2 separate regions of the Homo sapiens genome follow, and region 1 is linked to region 2. Evidence: promoter capture Hi-C in human tissues and cell types (Jung and others, 2019). All regions are on one chromosome and are shown on one strand. The core of a region is centred on a gene start or on the middle of the fragment in contact, and the rest is flanking DNA. Distances in the headings are between cores, read along the strand shown.

Region 1 (4,690 bases), core at 647-3,146, 360 kb after region 2:
ACCCCATCTCTACAAAAAATTTAAAAATTAGCCCAATGTGGTGGCACACACCTGCAGTCCTAGCTGAGAGGCTGAGTTGGAAGGATTGCTTAAGCCAAGGTTGAGGCTGCGGTGTGCTATGATGGCACCACTGCTCTCCACCCTGGGCTACAGAGTGAGCCTCTGTCTCAAAAAAAGAAAAAGGCCAGGCACGGTGGCTCACGCCTGTAATCCCAGCACTTTGGGATGCTGAGGCGGGTGGATCACGAGGTCAGGAGATCAAGACCATCCTGGCTAACATGGTGAAACCCTGTCTCTACTAAAAATACAAAAAATTAACCAGGCGTGGTGGCGGGAGCCTGTAGTCCCAGCTACTCAGGAGGCTGAGGCAGGAGAACGGTGTGAACCTGGGAGGCGGGGCTTGCAGTGAGCCAAGATTGCACCACTGCACTCCAGCCTGGGAGACACAGTGAGACTCCATCTCAAAAAAAAAAAGAAAAAGATAAACCAGGCACAGTGGTTCAAGAGTTCAAGGATCTCTTAAGCCAAGGAGTTCAAGGTTTCAGTCAGTTATGTTTGCACCACTGCATGCCAGCCTAAGTGACAGAGCGAGAGCTTGTCTCTAAAAAAAAAAAAGCCAGGCACGATGGCTCATGCTTGTAATCCCAGCACTTTGGGAGGCCAAGGCAGGTGGATCACGAAGTCAGGAGATAGAGACCATCCTGGCTAACATGGTGAAACCCCATCTCTACTAAAAATACAAAAAATTAGCCAGGCTTGGTGGCGGGCGCCTGTAGTCCCAGCTGCTCGGGAGGCTGAGGCAGGAGAATGGCGTGAACCCGGGAGGCGGGGCTAGCAGTGAGCGGAGATCGTGCCACTGCATTCCAGTCTGGGCGACAGAGTGAGACTCCGTCTCAAAAAAAAAAAAAAAGGAAAACTCAGGGGATGCAGAACCCCAGCTAACTCAGCCACATTCTCTTGCTTTGCTTTCCTTAACTCCATTTCACATCACCTCAAGCAAAGGAGATTCTACGAGGATAGGTATATAAAGAAAACACATATCCTCCAACCTCATTATCCAAGACTGTTTCAGATGATCCTGGACCCTACCTGTTTGACCCTAACTGCTGCTTTCAAGATGCACCTCACGGTTTGCATAGATTTAGGTAAAGCCAGATTCTACATGGCAAGGGCTTATTAAGAAAGTAAAATGGCCAGACACGGTGGCTCATGCCTATAATCCCAATGCTTTGGGAGGCCGAGGCGGGCGGATCACCTGAGGTCGGGAGTTCGAGACCAGCCTGACCAACATGGAGAAACCCCGTCTCTACTAAAAATACAAAAAATTAGCTGGGCATGGTGGCGCATGCCTGTAATCCCAGCTACTCCGGGGGCTGAGGCAGGAGAATAGCTTGAACCCGGGAGGTGGAGGTTGCGGCAAGGCCGAGACTGCACCACTACACTCCAGCCTGGGCAACAAGAGCAAAACTCTGTCTCAAAAAAAAAAAAAAAAAGAAAGTAAACTGGCACTCAGCAAGAAGGCTGTCTTCATTTCTTCACTTATTACCACACTGGCAAGGAAACAGTTTCATAATGCTTACAGAAATGCTCACTGATAAGACAGTAAACTGCTCATTTCCAAAACACATAACAACTGACCACATCATGATTAGTGATTTTAGTTGCCAAAATCAACTCGTTTCTCGTCTTCCAGTTACCTAAGGGTATGAAGACAGATATGTCAAGTGAGAGACTGGCTCTTATCTCTAGACCCAGGCAAAAGGCAGCTAAAGGTTGAAGGTACCATCAGGCCTGGGACCCAGAGATAAAATTCAGAGTATTATTTTTGAAATGTTTTGTGGACAACTTGCCAGGATATACATGGGAAAAACTCGAGGGTAGAACAGGAGTGATAAGATGATCCACTTTAGATTTTGGAAAACAAAAAATATCAAGTTCCTGGGAGAAGGAACTATGGGTGAAGTTTTAAATCTCAGAGTGGTGGTTCTCAATCCTGGCTGCACACCAGAATCACTTGCACAGACTTTTTAAATTATGAATGCCCAGGACCCACGGGTTCAATCTAGGCTTAAAGAATCAGAAAAAGGCCAGGCACAGTGGCTTATGCCTGTAACCCCAGCACTTTGGGAGGCTAAGGTGGGAGGATCATTTGAAGCCAGGAATTTGAGACCAGCCTGGGCAACATGGTGAGACCCCCATCTCTACAAAAAAAAAAAAGATAATAAATTCCTAGGAAGGGGCCCCACACACCCCTATTTTTTTTTTTTTTAAGTTCCTCATGAGGTCAGGAGTTTGAGACCAGCCTGGCCAACATGGCGAAACCCATCTCTACTAAAAATACAAAAATTAGGCCGGTGTGGTGGTGGACACCTGCAATCCAGCTACTCAGGAGGCTGAGGCAGAAGAATTGCTTAAACCGGGAAGGCAGAGGTTAAAGTGAGCTGAGATCGCGCCACTGAACTCCAGCCTGGGTGACAGAGCAAGACTGTCTTGAGGGAAAAAAAAAAGTTCCTGAGGAGATTCTGATGCACAGCCACCACTGAGAACAACTGCCAAGAACTACTGTCAAGACACATTCCAAAATGGACAAGACCACTAAACTCAGGCTCCAGAGTCGACAAATAAATGACTTAAAAACTTAACCCAGCTTCTCAGTTGTTCCACATTTCCCTAATGGAAAGGTCTCCACCAAGTAGCAGTAGGTATATCTCAGCCTCCCCCCATTACCAAATTAAGGGCCACAAGTTTTTCACAGTTAAATTACTTGGCATCTTCATTTCTAGCTCTAGTTCTAACAGGTGGCTCGGCCTAGAGGTCAGAATACCAGTCAGCAAGTTTCTGCTGCTGATTCATGCTGTAATCACAAGCAAGTTGCTTACCCATCATCCAGAGTAGTTGACAAGCACCTCCAGAGGGGCAACATATGGCCTTACTACAGAATCAACTGACAACAAATTGAATCCAGCTGAAATTAGTAATTCTGAATGAAAGGAAGAGAGAGGTGGTATCAGGAATGATGCACATGCCAGTAAGTTATCTGCTTGCTAAGTGTGATTATACAAAGCTTATTGAAAAATACCGCCTAGGACTTCATAAAAATTTACTTGGACAAATCACTCTTAACACTGCTAAGCCTCTATTTTCTTTTCTGTGAAACAGGACTAATATTCTACCATACTTCCTCATAGAATCATGAGGATTAAGAAAGAAAACTTCTGTAAAATGCCTACCATAGTGGCTGACACACAGTTTTACTATGATTTGAAAGCCTATCATTAATAAATCCAAAGCGTTCCTGTCAAGAGCACCCACTAGACTTCCAATGAAGCCATATAAACCAAGGAATCCAGCCAACGGGCCCTGAAATTCTTTTAATTTCTCTAAGTGGTTTTACTGAAGGCTTCAAATCACCTCAATTTTCAAAGCCATTAAAATCTCCAGGTCCATTTACAGCTCAGAGGCATTCTTCAAGGCAGATTACCACTAGTAACCTGGTTTCTGGTACCAGAATAACAGGAAGAATGCCAGGGCAGTGCTTCATACCACCAACCTCAAAATAACTGCCTCATAATACCTGACCTTCCCTTAACCTCCCTGGCAGTTCTATCGGCCCAGGGGGATGGGACAAGAGCCTGGTTCCTGGCCAGAGTCCACTGCCTGCCCATAAACGGCCTACCTTCTCTCTTGCCTCTCTTTCTTTGCTCCCTCTAAATGACTTTCCCCACTTTCTAACCCACCTTCTCTCCTCTGAGCTATATTCACAGGATATTTACTGCTGCATGTTCTCAGAAATACCTATTAACACTACTGGAATGAAGCTGTAGGAATATAATCAAGAAAAGGAATGTTATATAAATGTTCAGGCAATTAGCCCAGGCAAAGAAACTGTGGTATGCGACTCTAGCCGGAAAGATCAAGAAAATCCTGGTAGCCAAATTTACATATTTCCTGTGTACAAATGAAGGGCAAATTTAAGCCAGCCACTGGAACAAAATCTCAAAGAAATTAATCATGTAGCTAGGAAGCAAATGGCCATTAATGACAGTTTACAGAATAGAAACCAAAGGGCTTTCTTCCACGAGGTAGAAAAGGGGGAGAAAAAAAGTGACTTAAATATTTGAATACTGAAAACTCTTGCTCTTTTCACCTTGACAAAAGATAAACTATCTTTTCACCTTACGCTTGTTTTCCCCTCAACTCAGTACTCTGTAATTCAAGAGGTCCTTTCAATGATTCCCAGCAGAATCAAGTATATGAAGTGTTCAGCTTATGAGATACTGCAGAAATCTTTTTATGGGATTATGCGGAGCTTGAGTGTACCCTTTTGTTAGAGCAACCATCTCATCGTGAAGTCACTGCATCAGAGCTCCTGAGTATCTGCTGTAGTAGCACTGGTCTTAGCTGTTACGTTCCTAAGGCAGCTTAGTTTCAACTTTAAAAATCAGCCAATATCCAGTTTCCTAACCTTTTAATCTCCACATATCCTGCCTTTTAATTTGTTCCTAAATGCAAGCAGTGGATTATGGCTAGTGAAGAAGCATGGATTTGGCTACAAAGCCCATCCTTCCTTGCTAAACGAACACGCACAGCAGAAGCCAGAAAAGCAGACACTGGCGGTGGCAAACATGGTCAAGCTTTCTAACACACACATTAAACAAAAAAAAAAGAATGCTGCCTCAAGGCACATATG
Region 2 (5,211 bases), core at 851-3,350:
CAGGATAGTCACGACCTCTTGACCTCATGATCCACCTGCCTTGGCCTCCCAAAGTGCTGGGATTACAGGCGTGAGCCATCGCGCCCGGCCTGGACCTCAATCTCATCAGTGAGCCTTTTCCCAGGGCTCTCTGATAGAGCTTTGGAGGAAACACTTGGAACCTAACTGGTCCTGGCACCTGGCAGTGGGGGAATAAGGAAGGAGAGCTTTGCTTCTGAAGGGAAAGTGTACTTGGCTTTCTCTTTAAAGGGTTTCCCTTGGGGAACAGGCAAGCGGCAGATGTATGGGCAATGGCCAACTGATCCATTTGGAGATAGATTCAGGGTGTGGTGTTCCCTGTAAGCCTGGGCAGGCCCTGGGAAACTGGAGCAGAGCTAAATTCTGGCCTAAAGTTGGGCAAGCTGCAGAGAAGCTTGAGTACGTTGGTTTCAGGTGTGTGAGTTTTGCCTTCTGCAGAGAAACAGGGGGGTGAAGGGTGGGGGTGGAGGGGTGTCCAGGAGGGTTAGTGTATCTGTTGCCCAGGCATGTTTCTAAATTCTGAAGCTGCACTGGTTAATCATTTTTATTCATGAACACAGTAACTGGCAAGGAGGCTTAGCTGGGCCCTCAAAGTCTGGCCTCAGTGCACCTTCTCAGTATATTTTCTCAACACTCCAGCACAAATCACCCATCCCACTCTCGGATTCAAGCTCACCAGGAATTGGGCCTTACTTCATGCCATTCTTTCTTTCTAGAATGCCTTTTCTTTTTTTTTTTTCTTTTTCTTTTTCTTTTTCTTTTTTTTTTTTTGAGACAGAGTCTCGCTGTTGCCCAGGCTGGAGTGCAGTGGCGCAATCTCGGCTCACTGCAAGCTCTGCCTCCGGGGTTCACGCCATTCTCCTGCCTCAACCTCCTGAGTAGCTGGGATTACAGGCGTCCACCACCACGCCCGGCTAATTTTTTGTATTTTTAGTAGAGACAGGGTTTCACCGTGTTAACCAGGATGGTCCCGATCTCCTGACCTCATGATCCACCCACCTCGGCCTCCCAAAGTGCTGGGACTACAGGCGTGAGCCACCGCGCCCGGCCAAAAGAATGACTTTTCTTTGATAAGCCTCTCACCCTTTCAGACGGCCTCATCCACTCCTGGGGAAGCATTCCGCAGTACCTGGGGCCTCAATTAATCTCTCTCTTCTCTCTCCATCTAAGCTCCAGATTCACTTTGTTGGTCTCTGGTCTAGCTCTACCGTGTTTATTTCTGTGCCGGTTTCCAGACCTCCAAATGGACGGTTTCCTGAGCCTTCTGCCCTTGCTGTTCCCTCTGCCAGGAACTCTTTTCCTGTGGATCTTTGCAAGGCCAGCTCTCTGTCATCATTCAATATCAGCTCAAATGTCACCTCCTAAGCGAGGCCTTCCTTGACCACCCTATCTAAAGTAACCCACACCTCTGCTCACTCTCTGTCCCCTCACCTTGTGTTACAAAATGTGTTTTTGTAAAACTTAGCAGCATCTGAAATTATCTTATTTGTGGGCTTGGACTATGTCTCTTCCTTTAGAATGTAAGCTCTAGGAAGGCAGAGTGAGTTGACACATGGTTGGCACCCAACAAATATCTGTTGATTGATTCTGTGAAGGCAAGCGTGGGGTATTCGACTTGGTGCCGGGCCTGGGCGCAATAAAGGTTGGCTGCCTGGAATATTTGCTACCTGAATGAATGAACCAAGGAACATACGAACGAAGGAATGCAGCCCTCTGCCTGTTGACTGACAGGTTGACTGACAGTTGGGGGGCCCGTGGCCAGCAGACTGTTGACTGACGGTTGACAGCTGAGTGGCAGCCAACAGACGCGCATCGGGGTTCCCGATTGGCTGGTGCAGCAGCCCCTCGGAGAGGGGCGGAAGAGGGTACCCGAGGCGACATCTCCGCGTGGGGAGGGGGGCGGCACCAGGCAGCGGGAGGCGGCCCAACTGCTCTGGCTGTGCGAGCAGCAGCCGCCTAGAACCCAGGAGCCGACGTCTCTGCGCATGGGCCCGGCTCGAGGGGCGGGGCGCGCATCACGTGAGCGTGTTTTGGGCACGTGACCCGCGCGGGGCCAAGGCTCGCCCCCGCCCCCGCCCCTCCTCCCCTCGGCGGGTGTGATCGAGTGGCCTCGCCTCATCGCCTAGCGCCCCCCTCAGTCGCCGCCGCCTCCGCCCGCCGGCCATGTCCCCCGGCCGCCGCCGCCGCCGCCCGAGCGCGGCGCTCCCGCGGCCCCGCGCGCAGTGAGCGCGGGCCCGTCTTGCCGTTCGCCCGCCCCAGGGCCCCCTTGTTCTCCGCGCCGCCGCCGCCGCCATGTTGGGTTTGGAGCTGCAGCGGAGCCGCCGCCGCCGCCGCGGGTGAGGGAGGCCGAGAGCGGAGCCCGCCCCGCCCCGGGGCCCAGGGAGCGGGGCCGCTTCGGAGCCCGGCCTCTCCCCGCCAGCCGCCTTCCCGGCCCGCCGTGCAGCCAGCGAGCCAGCGAGCGAGCAAGCAAGCAAGCACCGGACCCCGGCCGCGCCTTCAGCTACGGCCCGAGCGAGCCCGCCGCCGCCGGGCCCGGCCACAGCCTGCAGCGGAGCCCACGAGAGGCAGCGCCATGGCGGAGCAGACCTACTCGTGGTGAGTGCGGGGCTCCGGGAGGCCGGGAGGCGGCAAGGGTGGGGGTCGGGGCGCCGGCGCGGCCCGCCGAGGGGAAGAGGAGGAAGAACAGGTGCGTGTCGTGGGGGGGGGGCGCGGGTTGGGGTGCACGCCCCCCTCTTCCCCACCGGAGGGGGCGGCTGGCGCGCACGGAGGGCGGTGAGTGGCCGGGGACCTGGCGTCCGAGAAGGGGAATGGAGGAGGAGGCAGCGGCGGATGTCATCTGGCTATGGGCGGAGCAGGTGATGGAGAAGGGGAGCATGACCCCGGGGGTGGGAATCCCACGGATGGGAAGTTGAATCCGACAGGCACCCCGGAACTGACTCGTGGGGGTGTTTCCTGGGCAGGAGGACTCGAAGGGGTGGAGAGAGGCAGGCCAGGGCAAAGGTGGGCCGCTGGGCTGAGAGGAAGCTCTAGTGAGAACAGGTGATAGAGGCAGAACTTCTAAGTTGGGAGAGTGGAGCGGCCGCCGCTTGGCTCTGGGACAGGGAGCGCAGGGAGAGTTGGTGAGGTGGGCAGAGGCCCGGGAGTGAGGGGAGGAAAACTGCGGGGGTAGAGTCCACGAACCTTGGAGGGGAGTCACTGGTGAAGAGGTTGGAAGAGGAGCCTGAAGAACCTGTTTCCTTTTCCTTCTGGAAAAGGAATTCGTTGGTGACAGTGGGGCATGGGCAGAGTCTTTGTAAGGGTTGGTACTATTATTTTCAGAGGAATGGCGCCCAGGGCCAAGTGTGGAGGTGGAGGACCTGCAAGTTAAGTTCATTTCTGTGGGGCTTTTAAAGTTAGTAAGTAGCTCGTTAAGGGCCGAGAAGCGAGAAGCTACTGTGTAGTTTATGGGGTGACAACCTACATATCCGGAGAAGGGAGTGCCAGGGTTTGGGGGAAGGAACATGAGGGGTCTCCCTTTAGCATGTAGAGGTGGGATATTTGCAGGACGGGTTGAAGGAATGATGGCAGTATCCATGAAGAGTGGAAATCGGGTAGTGAGAAGGAAGTCATAGCTGGAGAGTGAGGAAGCAAGAAATGGCATGATCGTAGGAGTGGGGGACCTGATTGCAATTTAGAGAAATGGTTTGAAGATGGTTTACTCTTGAAGCAAATGTGGTTTGGGACAGAACTGTAGACATTCCCTTCTTAGAAAAGAGCATAATAGAATGGGACGAGCATGCCGTGTGGAGTTGGAAGACCTATTTCGGAGGTCCGGTTTGCCACCAACTTGCTTTGTTGATACGACATGGTAGTGAGTTCTTCGGTCCTTTTTCCTTACCTATAAAATAGAGGGAATTACCTTTTCCACAGCCTGTAAGGATTAAGTGAGTACATTTAGAAAGCACTTGGCAAACTGTGAAGTGCCACAGATCTTACTACATTAATTATAATTATCCTAGAGAAACATCTAAGAAATGGGTAATATCAGAAAATAAGGAATGGTTTTAGGTAGAAGACTTTGAGTGGATTATTTATAGTGTTAGAGGTTATAAGTCAGTAACTCATTGAGTCTTCACATAAGAGAAAGGGAGTTGGGGATTGAAGATGATAATTCTTAAGAGAACTTCATTGATGTATGTGCAATCTCAAGAAGAAGGTAACTGAGAGACAAAGTAACCCTAAAGGAAGAATTAAAATCTTGGTGAACACGTGCTCTAAAAAGAGGTTTAAGCTAATTTCATAGTTTTGCGTGACAGCTGCCTTTCAGTAGCAGGTCGTAGGGAACACAAGATTACAATTTCAGCTTCCTTCTGGACAGAGTAAGAAATGAAGGTAAAGGTGTTTCTGTCATGCCTTGTGGTTACTCATCTTGAGCTTCTCATACTCTGGCCCTAATGGCTGTGGCCCTGAGAGTCCTAATGGCTGCTTTGCTGTTTTTACTGTGCTGTACAGAGGCCCTGGATGGTTGAAAGAATAGAAAACTCAGTGGTCAAGAAATGGGGAAAATGAAAATGTTTTACTAGGTAGGTTGGACACACACGACCTCTCTCTGACATTAGTTGGCTCTATTAAGGAGGGATTACTTTGTGAAGTTTGACAATTTACAAATTTATTCTACTAAAATACTTCCTTCAATGTCAGCTCTGTTTGCTTTACAGGCAAAGAAACTCCTTGAAATCGGGGAGCTTAGCCCCTCAACCTTTGGCAGGTTTTGAGATGAAGAAAATTTTTACATTATCTGGAGAGAGGGTGGCATATAAGGGGAGACTGGGGAAAGTGGGCAGTTTCCTTTTTTTTTTTTTTTTTTTTTAGGACGGAGTCTCGCTCTGTCACCCAGGCTGCAGTGCAGTGGCGCCATCTCGGCTCACTGCAGCCTCCGCTTCCCGGGTGCAAGCAATTCTTATGCCTCAGCCTCCCGAGTAGCTGGGACTACAGCCACATGCCACCATGCCCGGCTTTTTTTTGTATTTTTAGTAGAGATGGGGTTTCACCATGTTGGCCAGGCTGGTCTCAAACTCCTGACCCAGTGATCTGCCCACCTCGGCTTCCCAAAGTGCTGGGATTGCAGGCATGAACCACCGTGCCCGGCCACAGCTTCCTATTTAATAGTTGTTCCTGATTCAACTGACTAATAATATAATAAAATAAGGAACT

Evidence for each region. The method cuts DNA at HindIII sites, captures the fragments that hold promoters and counts their contacts. A contact is called where the count stands out against the background at its distance.
Region 1: a contact is called between a fragment that was not itself captured here and the fragment with the promoter of SPPL3 in region 2, in 1 of the 25 tissues and cell types used here (dorsolateral prefrontal cortex).

Annotation. Positions count from the first base shown.
Region 1 is chr12:120,537,658-120,542,347 of GRCh38, reverse strand. The region is part of intron 1 of RNF10 (ring finger protein 10); the gene reads right to left. Among named protein-coding and RNA genes, the nearest start is that of RNF10, 5.6 kb to the right of the region's middle. The HindIII fragment of the contact is 6,302 bases long and covers 1-4,690 here.
Region 2 is chr12:120,901,247-120,906,457 of GRCh38, reverse strand. SPPL3 (signal peptide peptidase like 3) reads left to right here and starts at 2,100. Exons shown (of 11, transcript NM_139015.5): 1 at 2,100-2,613. The coding sequence starts at 2,591. It overlaps XLOC_009911 (a long non-coding RNA gene), which reads right to left and starts at 1,763. Exons shown (of 2, transcript NR_131215.1): 1 at 1,686-1,763. RefSeq lists silencers at 1,901-2,260, 2,341-2,560, 2,701-2,750. The HindIII fragment of the contact is 15,749 bases long and covers 1-5,211 here.